3 separate regions of the Homo sapiens genome follow, and all the other regions are linked to region 3. The links are contacts of gene promoters, found by promoter capture Hi-C in blood cells and fetal thymus (Javierre and others, 2016). All regions are on one chromosome and are shown on one strand. Each heading gives the region's core, a stretch centred on a gene start or on the middle of the fragment in contact. The rest is flanking DNA. Distances are from core to core; before and after follow the strand shown. Region 1 overlaps BICDL1 (BICD family like cargo adaptor 1). Region 2 has its middle 4.9 kb from the start of BICDL1. Region 3 holds the start of GCN1 (GCN1 activator of EIF2AK4).

The links. Contacts are between HindIII fragments. The CHiCAGO score rates a contact against its expected background, and 5 or more counts as called.
Region 1: a fragment that was not itself captured here is called in contact with the fragment with the promoter of GCN1 in region 3 in 2 of 17 cell types (activated CD4 T cells and total CD4 T cells); the score reaches 7.0 in activated CD4 T cells.
Region 2: a contact is called between a fragment that was not itself captured here and the fragment with the promoter of GCN1 in region 3, in 2 of 17 cell types (activated CD4 T cells and naive CD4 T cells). The highest score is 7.0, in activated CD4 T cells.

What each region holds. Positions count from the first base shown.
Region 1 is chr12:120,013,909-120,018,183 of GRCh38, forward strand. The region is part of intron 2 of BICDL1 (BICD family like cargo adaptor 1); the gene reads left to right. Among named protein-coding and RNA genes, the nearest start is that of BICDL1, 27 kb to the left of the region's middle. The HindIII fragment of the contact is 1,598 bases long and covers 1,257-2,854 here.
Region 2 is chr12:119,982,097-119,986,574 of GRCh38, forward strand. No RefSeq gene overlaps it. Among named protein-coding and RNA genes, the nearest start is that of BICDL1, 4.9 kb to the right of the region's middle. RefSeq lists a silencer at 3,627-3,808. The HindIII fragment of the contact is 794 bases long and covers 1,960-2,753 here.
Region 3 is chr12:120,193,383-120,198,363 of GRCh38, forward strand. It overlaps GCN1 (GCN1 activator of EIF2AK4), which reads right to left and starts at 1,333. Exons shown (of 58, transcript NM_006836.2): 1 at 1,298-1,333. The coding sequence starts at 1,315. It overlaps RPLP0 (ribosomal protein lateral stalk subunit P0), which reads right to left. Exons shown (of 8, transcript NM_001002.4): 7 at 3,940-4,080; 8 at 3,317-3,552. The coding sequence ends at 3,391. RefSeq lists a silencer at 1,041-1,630 and an enhancer at 4,814-4,981. The HindIII fragment of the contact is 5,843 bases long and covers 369-4,981 here.

The DNA of each region.
Region 1 (4,275 bases), core at 806-3,305, 180 kb before region 3:
GGAAACCCCCGCATATTACAGTTGTTGAAGGGCAAGGTTAACCCATGTTATTTAGCTCTTGTCTAGTCTGACCTTTTGATCTCACAGTTGAAGAAAGCACTAAGGCCGTAGGAGGATGTGACTCATCTAAGGTCACAGCCAGTAAACCTGTGGTTTAGGTAAATGTGTGTTATAAAAAATCTTTGAAAAACAAGGTGTAAAAATCTTTGCAAAGTAATTCTGTTTACTTAAACGATCATGTTTTGTTTTATGCAGTCTGTTTACTTAAAAACCTAGCAGACAGAAAGCTATTATTAAAGAAGAACTTCAATATTTAAAAGGAGCCCTACATAGAACCTACCTACCAGTTACTTCAAGTCAACTCGAAGCCTTGCATTCTGCTTAGTATTTGAATTATTCCTCAAAAACCAAAATAAAATTTAATGTAGCATCGGATTGAGGCATCTTTCAAAAGTAACATCTATTTTGAAAACCAGCAGAGTTTGAATTAAAAAACCATTCTTGCACCGGTGCAGTGGCTCACGTCTGTAATCTCAGCACTTTGGGAGGCTGAGCCGGGCAGATCACAAAGTCAGGAGATCGAGACCATCCTGGCCAACATGATGAAACCCCGTCTCTACTGAAAATACAAAAATTAGCCAAGTGTGGTGGCGCGTGCCTTTCATCCCAGCTACTCAGGAGGCTGAGGCAAGAGAATCGCTTGAACCCAGGAGGCAGAGGTTGCAGTGAGCCGAGATCACGGCACTGCACTACAGCCTGTGACAGAGCGAGACTCCATCTCAAAAAAAAAAAAAAGCAAACCATTCTTGGCTGGGTGTGGTGGCTTACACCTGTAATCTCAACACTTGGGAGGCCAAGGTGGGAGGATTGATCCCAGAAGTTCGAGACCACCCTGGGCAACATGGTGAGACTCCCATCTCTAAAAAAAAATTAAAAAATAAAAAAAATTATTTGTATGTCATGTTACTTCCCTAAAATGAAAGGAATTTATTTACCAAATAGAATCCTTTGTTTGAAAAAAAAATGAGTGAAAACATGTCTTCTGAAAATACAGTCTGCTAAAGTTATAGGTTATGGACTTTTAACTGTCAGTGGGAGAGACAGACAAATCTTATGAGAGTCAGGGAAAGTGACAAAGCTGAAACCCTCAAGAGAGGACACATAATTCAAGATGGATCTTCCCTCCCTTGCCCCAAGACCAGAGAATTCAAGAGTCTGCCCCTTCCCACTTGCAGTGGGAAGGGAAAGCTTGTTGAAGCTTTCTTAACTTTATGCAATAACCTGAAACATCTCCTTGCCTTTAAGCTCTGCTCCTCCATTTTTTCCCATTGTCAGATACCTTCCTCTTTGGAAGCTCTAAACAACTCTTACTGCATTTAGGGGACTCCCTTGGCATAACAAATAAGAAAGGGCATGGCATTCAAAGCCCTGTACCTTCTGGACCTAGCACACATTTCCAGCCCTGCCTCTTCTTTCTACTTGTACCACCGTTGGAATTTCCCCCAGTCCTGAAGGCCAGGCTCAGTTGCCACTTCCTTCATGAGAACTTTGCTGTTCTTCTCCCACCAGCTTTGATCTCTCCTACTTACCAACTAGAGTGCTTTAGTCCCTTTCTTTTGTCATTTACATTCTGTCATCTCTTACGGTTAATTCATGTATTTGACTCCATTGAGTCAAGGACTGTGCACTCAGGGCACCTCCCCCACAGGGCTGAGCACCTTATCTGGAAACTTCGTATGTGTTAGAACTAGATTCACAAGCCAGCTAAGCATATGTTACTTAGTTCTGTGGTTCAAATGTATAGCAAACTTGACCATTTACTAAAAGGTTGAACCCACCCAGAGAATTATTTCACTTCTCTTAATATATACTTAATCTTGCTGAATTCCTTTTCCATTGTCCAGATCACTGGTTCCCAGTCTTTCAGTGTAAGGAACCCCCTTTTTAAAACCTAATCCAATGACCTTCTACAATATTTTGAAACAGCCTTATTGAAGTATAATTTACAGTTTATAAATTCACCCACTGTAAATGTATAATTCAATTTTTAGCATATGTACAGAGTTGTGCAGCCATCACCATAATCCAATTTTAGAACATTTCTGCTACCCCAAAAAGTTCCCCCATATCGTTCTGCATTCAGTCTTCACTCCTGTCCCCACCCGCAGCCCCAGGAAAACACTGATCTGTTTTCTGTCTGTATTGATTTTCCTTTTCTGGATATTTCATATAAATGGAATCAGGCAATATATAGTTTTTGTGTCTGGCCTCTTTCACTTAGCATCACGTCTGTGAGGTTCACTCGTGTTATAGCACATAATAGTTCCTTTTTTAGTATTCCATTGTGTGAATATACTGCATTTTGTTTATCCATAACCAGTTAATGGAGATTTGGATTGTTTCCAATTTTCAACTATTATGAATAGTGCTGTTAGGAACATTCATGTACAAGTCTTTGGACTTACACTTTCATTTCTTTTGGGTAGATATTTAGGAGTGGAATTGCTATATGGTATGTCTGTAACCTTTTTTTTTTTTTTTTTTTTTTTGAGACAGGGTCTCACTCTGTCACCCATGCTGGAGTACAGTGGCGTGATCATGGCTCACTACTCTGGTGATTCTCCCACTTCAGTCTCCCAAGTAGCTGGGACTACAGGCATGTGCCACCATGCCCAGCTAATTTTTGTATTTTTTGTAGAGACAGTTTTGCCATGTTGCCCAGGCTGATCTTGAACTCTTGGGCTCAAGCAGTTTGTCCATCTTAGCCTCCCAAAGTGCTAGGATTACAGGTGTGAACCACCACACCTGTCCTGTCTGTAACTTTTTAAGAAACCGCCAAACTTATTTTCAAAGAAGCTTGTACCAGTTTATATTCCTACCAACAATGCGTGAGAGTTCCAGTTTCTCCACAAGAGGACTCCTTTTTAGTATGTAAAAAAAAAAAAAATTGTAGACCTTCACATGGTAATAGATTTATTTTACTTTATTTTATTTCATTTTTTGAGACGGAGTCTCGCTCTCTCTCCCAGTCTGGAGTGCAGTGGCACGATCTCGGCTCACTGCAAGCTCTGCCTCCCGGGTTCATGCCATTCTCCTGCTGAGCTCAGCCTCCCGAGTAGCTGGGACTACAGGCACCCGCCACCACACCCGGCTAATTTTTTGTATTTTTAGTAGAGACAGGGTTTCACTGTGTTAGCCAGGATGGTCTAGATCTCCTGACCTTGTGATCCGCCTGCCCTGGCCTCCCAAAGTGCTGGAATTACAGGCGTGAGCCATCGTGCCCAGCCTAGATGTTGTTTTATATCAGCAGATTGATAAAACAACACAGGGATTGAGTAATACTTTTAAAAGGATTTATATTCTAGAATCAAAACAGCGTGTATTAACATGATGTGTTCAGTATAGAGGCAGTGCTCTTAAAGCAACTCGGTGTCCCCAAAGGATTCATGGTTTGTAAGTTGGGAGCCACTGATCCAGATGACTTGTTTAGAAATAAATGTAAGTTATTTTGTGTCTTTTTATGCATCATCTGTAAAATGGAGACCTGCCTCATAAAGTTGTTTGAAGACTAAATGAAAATATATCCCAAGGCAGGAAGATTGGTTGAGCCCAGGAGTTTGAGAACAGCGTGGGCAACATAGCAAGACCCGTCTCTGCAAAAATTTTTTTAAAAATAAGCTGGGCATGGTGGCACAGGTCTATAGTTGTAGCTACTTGGGTGACTGAGGCAAGAGGATCACTTGAGCCCAGGAGTTCAAGGTTGCAGTAGGCTATGATTACACCACTGTACTCCAGCCTGGGTGACACAGTGAGACCCTGCCTGAAAAAAAAAAGAAAATGTGTCAAGATTTGGCCGCATAATAGTTGCTCAATTAGTGGCAGCTAGTATTAGTAGAAAGCAGTATGATTTAATCGAGTATAGGCTGTGGAGCCAACAGCTGAGAATTCTAACTTAACCTGAATTAGGTGAGATTAATAGTAGTCTGCTTTTCACAAACTTTTTTGAAATGGGGACTGTGTGGATACTTGCAAACACCTGTTTCCATGCTTGATTCTTGCTGACTTCAGATTGCTGTTTATATCTACCCGTTTCCTTTGGTTTCATCTTTTTGGATAGGAACCTTCTCCCCACCAGCAATCTGTCAAAGTCATTTAGTAAATGCTATTCCTGTGTTCTAAAGCTGTAATTCTCATCCCTGATTGCATATTAGAATCACCTGGGCAGCTTTTGCGCTGGATACCGATGTCTGGTCCCACCCTCAGAGATTTGACTTA
Region 2 (4,478 bases), core at 1,107-3,606, 210 kb before region 3:
CTGGAGTGCAGTGGCGCGATAGTAGCTCACCGCCTCGCTGCATCCTCAAACTCCATGTCTCAGCCTCAGGAGTAGCTAAGACTATAGGTGGGAGACAGAGGATCTCTCTGTGTTGCTCAGGGTGGTCTCAAACTCCTGGCCTCAAGCGATCTTCCAGCCTCGGCCTCCCAAAGTGCTGAAATTACAGGAGTGAGCCACTGCACCTGGCCTGCCAGGCTCCATTTTAAACATATCTGAAATATTCTTGTCTTAAGACTGACCTTATTAAGTAAGTATTACTTCTTCTTCTTCTTATTATTATTATTATTATTGGAGACAGGGTCTTGCTCTGTCATCCAGGCTGGAGTGCAGTGGCACACAGCTCACTAAAGCCTCAACCTCCTGGGCTCAGGTGATCCTCCCACCTCAGCCTCTCCAGTAGCTGAGATGAAACGCACACACCACCATGCCTGGCTAATTTATTTTTTATTTTTTTGTAGGGACAGGGTTTTGTTATGTTACCCAGGCTGGTCTTGAACTCCTGGGCTCAAGCAATTCACTCACCTCGGCCTCTGAAAGTGTTGGGATTACAGGTGTGAGCCACCACACCTGGCCTATCAGGCTTCATTTTTAAGAGCTGTACGTATCTGAAATCTTTCTGTCTTAAGACCAAATTTATCAGGTAAGTACTACCATTATCCCCATTTTATAAATGAAGAAACTGAGGCATAGAGGTCCAAAGTCATCCAACTCCTAAGTGGCAGAACTAGATGCAGCCCAGGAAGTCTGGTTCATGATCATTAAGGGGAAAGACTGAAGATGCCTAATCAGAAGGGAGGAAAAATGGGTCAGAAGCTGGAAATGACAGTTGTCAGAAAATAACTGGCAGAGGTAACAGGGCAGCTAGACCTGGGGTATTAGGCAAATCCTTGGGAGAGAGGAGTTCTCATCTGGAAGGGAAAAGTTGGGCAAGGATGTTGGTAGGAAAGGATAGAAGCTGGAGGAGAGGAAGTTGGGAACTCACACTGTGTATCCATATAGGGACAAGATGAGGCTTCTATTTACCTTCTGAGTAGCAGAGAAGGAACTTCCCGACATCAGGCAGGGCAGGGTCTCTGCTGAAGACTGACACCGGTGAGCACCAGCCACTGATGTTAACATTTTTCCCCTAAAAACCAACTTGAGAACCACCAGGGGTATACACACCACATTCTGCAAAATGTTGAGATCACTCCTCTCTAAAAAATATAAAGTGCTTTGGGTAACATTTGATGAATGTCCAAGACTTGTATGTTTCCACGATTATTTCATAGACAAAATATACAACTTAAAACACGCGTGATCTGCTGGTGCACACAAACACACACATCATAGCTAAATGAAAATATCAAGCATAGAACAGCTTTATTACACATTTTGCCAGTTCCTCATGTTTCTTCAACACTTGGCTTTTCAAAAACAAATTTTCGAGACGTTTTGTCTTTTACACTTTCCAGTTTTCACGGACCAAGATGTTAATAAAAGTAAACAACTTGGGGAAATCGGATGAGCGTTGTCATATTTGTAGATATCAGGATCTCTAAGAAGGAAAAATGTCATGTTTTGCCCTTAGTGATGTAATAGCACTTACGTGGAAATTCACCCATAGTATGTTAAGTATGTAAACTGTACTCATACTCAAGTTTACCAGACTATCCAGGTACTAAAACTAACACTAATGCAAATATATTTTAAAGGAATACATAAGTGATAAAAAGTGAAGTGCAGTAGAGTAACTAAGAACAAGTCCATTAGAGACAGACAGTTCTAAAACACTAGCATCATAGTATCATGTACTAGTATATATTGGTGTAACACACTACCATTATAGGGTTATTGTGAGGATTAAATGAGAGAGTGTTACATAAAGGATTTAAGGAGCACAGTGCTAAATGTATTTTAGCTGTTATTGTTCTAGCATGAAGAAGAATAAATTTAATAAGCTTCTTAGAAGTCTGATGGTTTTCATAACTTGGCTTTAATGAGTTTTAAATCCTGGCACTAATTTCCATATAGGCAGGTATATATTCATTCTGTTACCTCAAGGCTGACCTAATGGACTTGAATCAGCAGTTCCCAGAGTGTGGTGCACCGGCTCCTAAAGGTCCTAGAGTCTTTCAGAGGGCTACCAAGAAAAGAACTATTTTCATAATAAGTGTAAGGATTATCATTCTAATGTTATTAACAATAGCAAACTAATTTCATAATAATGCTAATCATCTAATACTATTTTTGTTTGTAATTATGTTGACATTTGCACTGATGGTGCAAAAGCAATGGTAGGTAACACCACTGATACCTTAGCATGAGTCAAGGCAGTGTTACCCAGCTGTGCTGGTACACATGGTAGTCTTCACTTTCATGTGCTCATAGAAAAAACAGAAGCTAGTTTTATTAACCAATGTCCCTGACGAAGCAGTACTTCTATTAAGTCCAGACCCTTGAGTGCACATCTTTTTAATATTTCATGTGATGAAATGGGAAGTACCCACAAAGCACTTCTGCTGTGTACTGAAGTATGATGGTTATCTTGAGGTGAAGCACTTGTACCTCCGTTTGAGTTGGGAACTAACTAGCCACATTTTTCACGGAACACTGTTTTTACCTGAATGAATGACACAAACTGTGGTATTCAGATTCGGGTATTTGGCAGATATTTTCTCAAGAATTAATGAAGTAAGTCTGTTACTTCAAGGAAAACAACTCAAAATATTTGTTACTAATGATAAAACTCAAGCTTAGTAACTTCTCAATACTTAAAGACTTTTATGATGAGATCAGTGGTGGTGATATTAATGAATGTGATTAGGCTGATATTGTGTAATGACATGTGACAATATTTGTAAGATCTGCATAACTCAGACATTTTCCAAATGAAAATACATGCTGTTATACAATCAATCATACATATGTAAAAAATCCATTCAAAGTGAAAAATAGATCAATGGGATTTCCTTGACATGGTTTTAGATTTCACATTGCAACTAACCTTTAAGAAACTACAACTTGTCATCTGGGCGCAGTGGCTCACGCCTGTAATCCCAGCACTTTGGGAGGCTGAGGTGGGTGGATCACCTGAGGTCAGGAGTTCAAGACCAGCCTGGCCAACATAGTGAAACCCCGTCTCTACTAAAAATACCAAAATTAGCCAAGTGTGGGGGCACATGCCTGTAGTCCCAGCTACTTGGGAGGCTGAGGCAGGAGAATCACTTGACCTGGGAGGTGGAGGATGCAGCGAGCCAAGATTGCGCCACTGCACTCACTCCAGCCTGGGCAACAGAGTGAGACTCCATCTCAAGAAAGAAAGAAAGAGAGAGAGAGAGAGAAAGAAAGAAACTATAACTTGTCAAGTTTGGGTGTAATATCAAAGAAAAATATCCAAAATGAAAAGGCTACTAAAATATTCCTCCTTTTCCCAACCACATATCTTTGTGAGTCCAAATTTTCTTCATATATTTCAAAATATCATACATTATAGATATATCCAAATACAAGAATTCACTTTTCTACTGTTAAGCCATACATTACAGAGGTTTACAAAAATGAAGAATAACGCCATTCTTCTCACTAGTTTTTTTTACATTTAGGACCATATAGTTATTGTTCATAAAAATTCATTATAGTTACATATAATAGGTTTATCATAAATATTTAAAATGAATTAATTATTTAAAAACTTTTTTTTTGGAGATGGAGTCTCACTCTGTCACCCAGGCTGGAGTGCAGTGGCGTGACCTTGGCTCACTGCAACGTCCGCCTCCCAGGTTCAAACGATCCTCCCGCCTCAGCCTCCTGAGTAGCTGGGACTACAGGCACATGCCACCATGCACAGCTAATTTTTGTATTTTTAGTAGAGACAGGGTTTTGCCATGCTGGCCAGGCTGGTCTTGAACTCATTACCCCAAGTGATCTGCCTGCCTCGGCCTCCCAAAGTGCTAGGATTACAAGCATGAGCCACCGTACCCGGCCCAAGAGTGTAATGAGATTCTGAGACCAAAATGTTTAAGAACCACTATTTTGAATAGTTCTGCAAAGTTGGGCTGGTTCTCCCAGAAAGACAGTGCTTAGAGCCAAACCTACTGTAAGAAGTGAACATTTCCTAGTAAGGTTCAGCAGTGGAACATTGTTAGGAAGGAAATTCAGAAGCTGGAGTTAGAATTGTAACAGTTCATTTTCACAGTAACAGATAAGTGGAACAGATTAGGACCATTGGGCTCAAGGCAGGCAAACAAAGTCATTTTTTGAAAGATAGGCTGCATGTCTGCATTAAGGAAAAAGAGCTGAAACTCTTTTTTTTTTTTTTTTTTTTGACAAGTTCTTGCTCTGTCACCCAGACTGGAGTGCAATAGTATGATCAGGGCTCACTGCAGCCTTGATCTTCCAGGCTCAACTCACCCTCCCATCTCAGCCTCCTGAGTAGCTGGGGCTATAGGCACACACCACCATGCCTGGCTAATTTT
Region 3 (4,981 bases), core at 83-2,582:
GCAACCTCTGCCTCCCAGGTTCAAGCGATTCTCATGCCTCAGCCTCCTGAGTAGCTGGAATTACAGACATGCCACCATACCCGGTTAATTTTTTGCATTTTTAGTAGAGACGGGGTTTTGCCACGTTGGTCAGACTAGTCTCAAACTCCTGACCTCAACTGATCCACCCGCCTTGGCCTCCCAAAGTGCTGGGATTACAGGGTGAGCCACCACGCCCAGCCAAACAATGAATTTTTTTATTTAATTTAATTTTAACAAACTTAAGCCATGTGGCTGCCATACTGGACATTGCAGCTCTAGAGATTTTTCCCTCAAGTGAGTATCAATGTTAAACATTCAGCATGTATTCCCCTAACCCTCTCATACTAAGCTTTTCTTTCTAGTATTCAGTACAACATAACTTGAACATCAGCCACCTGCATAGGAGTCTCAGTAAATGTCTTTTTGAATGCTTAAGTGGTCATTTTCTGGGCCTACACATAAAAATCAATCCCATCACCCTGGAGACACCAAATCAGCCCAGCTGTCCTTAGACACCTGTTCTTCCCCTGCCTCATGACAATGTCTTTTCACCTTAAAACATAACAACTGGGTGGAGGAAAAGGTTTTCCCAGGTCCTTCCTGAACTACAAGGTACCCATAGGTAACACTCTTCCTGGACAGGACAGTTCTTTTCACTAACCCTGGATCTGATAACAACCAACATATATCAAGCCGTATTTTATCTCACTGAACCTTCACAACAACCTTTTAAGATAAGTATTGTTTTAACTTCATTTTATAGATGAAAAGGCAGACTTGGCGGGGTTAAGTCACTTGTTTGGCATGTCACAGAAATCGACGAGCAGGAACTCAAGCCCAGATCTGTATGAATCCAAAGACTACACTCAAAGTCCCTGCTCATAGTAGGTGCTCAAAGAATATTTGCTGAATACAAAGTTTAAGGAAGACTTGGCGTTGGCCCGGGGCTCACAGCCGGAGGGCTTTGGAGAAAAGAAGTAGAGGCTCGGTAAAGTGAACTTCTGCAACTCTGGGGTCGGGCAAAGGCCCCGCCGAGCTCCAGCTGCTGAAGTCGAGGCGGGAGCCCCGGACTCCTCGAGCCCGCGGTCTGCCTGCGCCGCCCGGGCCGGGCCAAGCCCGCAGCCCTGAGAGTCCAGCCTGAGACGGCCCCGAGACTACGACCTCCACAGCCACCACCTCCAACGCCCCTAAGCCGAGGAGCGAGAGGGGCCCCGCCCGACGGCCACCGTCCGCACCCAGTCCCTGGCCGCGTTGGCCCCGCAGCCGCCCGCCTCACCTGCGTGTCCGCCGCCATCCTGCCGGGGCTGACTCCGGAACCGCTTCCGGAACGCTTCCGGGTCACAGCGTGGCCCACGCGGCAGGGCGAGGCCGGGAGCCAGCGGGGGCAGGGCCCCGGGCTTGGTGCCCCCGGGCAGGACGGCGGCCGCTGCAGCCCGGGCAGCCGGATCACGGGCTTAAAGTTGGCCCGCGCCCGAGCCACAAGGCCTCCTCCCCAGGGCCCGCTCTTCAGCCCCGGGCGCCTCGTGGGAGACTAGCGCTTGTAACGTGGTGAGCCCGCGGTGTAACGCTATGGGCCCGCCTTGCAGCCCCTGACCCACTTCCAGCCCGCAGGGCCAGCCCTACGTGGGCCTTTCCTGAGTGATGACTAAGTTCTTTAGAAAAACAAGTGTTGCTTCCTAGATAGCAGGAACTAAAAACTAGGTAAAAGAGTCGGTGAACTAGTCTTTTGTCCTCAGTTTGTAGTTCAGTTGGCGGATGACTTGTACAGGGTTAGCAAACGTGGCTGGATACGGAGGTCAGGGAAGGTTCAGAACTGAACGAGGCCCCTGCCCTGGGGAAATGCTGGACGCCCCAGGCTGGGAGTTTTGAAGGCCACAGGGCAAGAGGCTACGTGCAGACGTGGCTGCAATTTAGGGAACAGGGTCTCCACAGCTTAGTTGTCAGCCCTGTTAGCAGTGGCTTTCAAACCTTTGACACAGACCTAGTTAGAATGAATATATCATGTTCCAGCAGACAGATCTCTAAGTGAAATACAGGAATCACAACAAAAACACCTATTCTCAGCAGATGCTGCTTTCTCTTTAAATACTGGGGCCAGGCATGGTGGCTCACGCCTGTAATCCCAGCACTTTGGGAGGCTGAGGTGGGTAGATCAACCTGATGTTAGGATTTCCAGACCAGCCTGGTCAACATGACAAAACCTTGTCTCTACTAAAAATACCAAAAAAAAAAAAAAAAAAAAAAAAGGCCGGGTGCGGTGGCTCACCCTTGTATAATTCCAGCGCTTCGGGAGGACAGGGCGGGCAGATCACAAGGTCAGGAGTTCCAGACCAGCCTGGCCAACATAGTGAAACCCCGTCTCTACTAAAAGTACAAAAATTAGCCGAGTGGTGGCACATGCCTGTAGTCCCAGCTACTGGGGAGGCTGAGGTGGGAGAACCGCTTGAACCCGAGAGGCAGAGGTTGCAGTGAGCTGAGACCATACCATTGCACTCCAGTCTGGGTGACAGGACGAGACTGTCTCAACAACAAAAAAATTAGCCCGGTGTGGTGGCAGCCTCCGGTAATTGCAGCTACTTGGGAGGCTGAGGCAGGAGAATCACTTGAACCCAGGAGGCGGAGGTTGCAGTGAGCCAAGTCCAAGCCACTGCACCCCAGTCTCAAATATATTTGAGACTATCTCGAAAATATAAATTGGTTACCACCGAGTTGGAGCACCACCCAGTTTGAAAAACTTTACTCTAGGGGACTGGCCCCAGCATCCACCAGGTGCCTATCTCAGCTGACACTAAACCTACTCCAAGTATGCAGCAGCCATAGAAACAGTAATTCTAGTGTAATAGTTACAACTGTGTCTAGAAAACTGTATAGGATGTTTGATTGGTAGCTTCATTTAGATACCCAAACATCAACACCTAAATACAAAGCTCTGGTTTTACCATGGCTTTCGTTTCTAGCATATGGCACTATAAACCTCAAAATTAAGGGCCAGGCACATGGTGGCTCAAGCCTGTAATCCTAGCACTTTGGGAGGCTGAGGCAGGATTCCTTGAGGCCAGGAATTTGAGACCAGCTTGTGCAATATCTCTACAAAAAAAAAATTTAAAAATTAGTAGCTGAGTGTCATGGTGTGTGCCTGTAGTCCCAGCTACTTGGGAGGCTGAGATACGAGGATCCCTTGATCCCAGGAGTTCAAGGGTGCAGTGAGTTATGATTACACCACCACACTCCAGCCTGGGCAACAGCCAGACCCTGTGTCAAAAAGGAAAAAAAATTACAAAATTAAGAGTCCAGAGACTTTTTAAAGAAGTAAGCCTTTATTTCCTTGTTTTGCAAATAAAACTGGCTAAGTTGGTTGCTTTTTGGTGATTAGTCAAAGAGACCAAATCCCATATCCTCGTCCGACTCCTCCGACTCTTCCTTGGCTTCAACCTTAGCTGGGGCTGCAGCAGCAGCAGGAGCAGCTGTGGTGGCAGCAGCCACAGGGGCAGCAGCCACAAAGGCAGATGGATCAGCCAAGAAGGCCTTGACCTGAAAGGAGGGGGGAAGTGGTCAAAATGGTCATCCACACTCCTCTATTACCCACCACCCTCCTGCCTTGGTAGAGTTTAAGGACCAACAATATCAAAGTCCGTGTGAAGCCTTTCCTGTCAGAAGCAGCCCAAGCAGGACAGCTTGGGTATGGCCTAGTGAGGCAGGGTTCCTAAGGCCCAGCTCTTGCCCATTAACCCCCTCTTTGGGTCTCTTGTCATTTCTCAAGTGAGAAACGCCTTCCCTGCCTCCCAACCTCTCAAATATCCCCTCACAAAATTATCTGCTATATAAAATACAACTATAAAAGCAGTAAGGTAGAAGGCCACATCACCCTGCTAATTTGTCACAGTCAGGCCCACTGTGGTCCTGGTGGGATCCTTTTACCTTTTCAGCAAGTGGGAAGGTGTAATCCGTCTCCACAGACAAGGCCAGGACTCGTTTGTACCCGTTGATGATAGAATGGGGTACTGATGCAACAGTTGGGTAGCCAATCTGCAGACAGACACTGGCAACATTGCGGACACCCTGGGGGAGGGAAGATTTCATTTTACGTGAGATTCCCTACAGGAAAGGAAGTCCAAGTAAGGGTGAATAAAGAGAACCCTTAGCAGACAATAATTGCCAGGTTGGCAGCTCAGTCTCAAGAGAGGCCATTTCATCTCATACCAAATGCTCCTGGCAGAGCAATTCAGCCCCATCAAATAAATTTTGCCCTTATTCCAAATCCAGGTCTTCTGTATCCATTGTTGATGGCATTTACTTCCAAAGCCCCTACCACAACAGTGAAAAGCATAAACGACTAACGTAGCCATTGAGTTCCATGAACGAAAAATGTTCAACGATTTCCAGATGTGAACTTCATTCACTTGTCAAACTTTCAACAAATGAAGCTACCTAAGAGTAGCTAATAATATCTAATTATATACATTAATTTCAATTTTTCATTTGTCCAAGAAATGACATTTTCTATCACTATTATTCATTATTTAAAGGGCATTATTTTTTTTGTGAGACAGAGTCTCACTCTGTCACTCAGGCCGGAGTGCAGTGGCACCATGTCAGCTCACCGCAACCTCCACCTCTTAAAAGGCTTTTGATGGCAAAATGTGAGTCTCAATGCAGGCCCTAGAATAACAGCCCCAGCACTGTACATCCATTAATTCATTAAATCCTTTGGCCAGGCGTGGTGGCTCATGCCTGTAATCCCAGCACTTTGGGAGGCCGAGTTGGGCGGATCACGAGGTCAGGAGATCGACACCATCCTGGCTAACGCGGTGAAACCTAAAAATACAAAAAAATTAGCCGGGCGTAGTGGCGGGTGCCTGTAGTCCCAGCTACTCAGGAGGCTGAGGCAGGAGAATGGTGTGAACCCGGAGGCGGAGCTTGCAGTGAGCCGGGAGATTGTGCCACTGCACTCCAGCCTGGG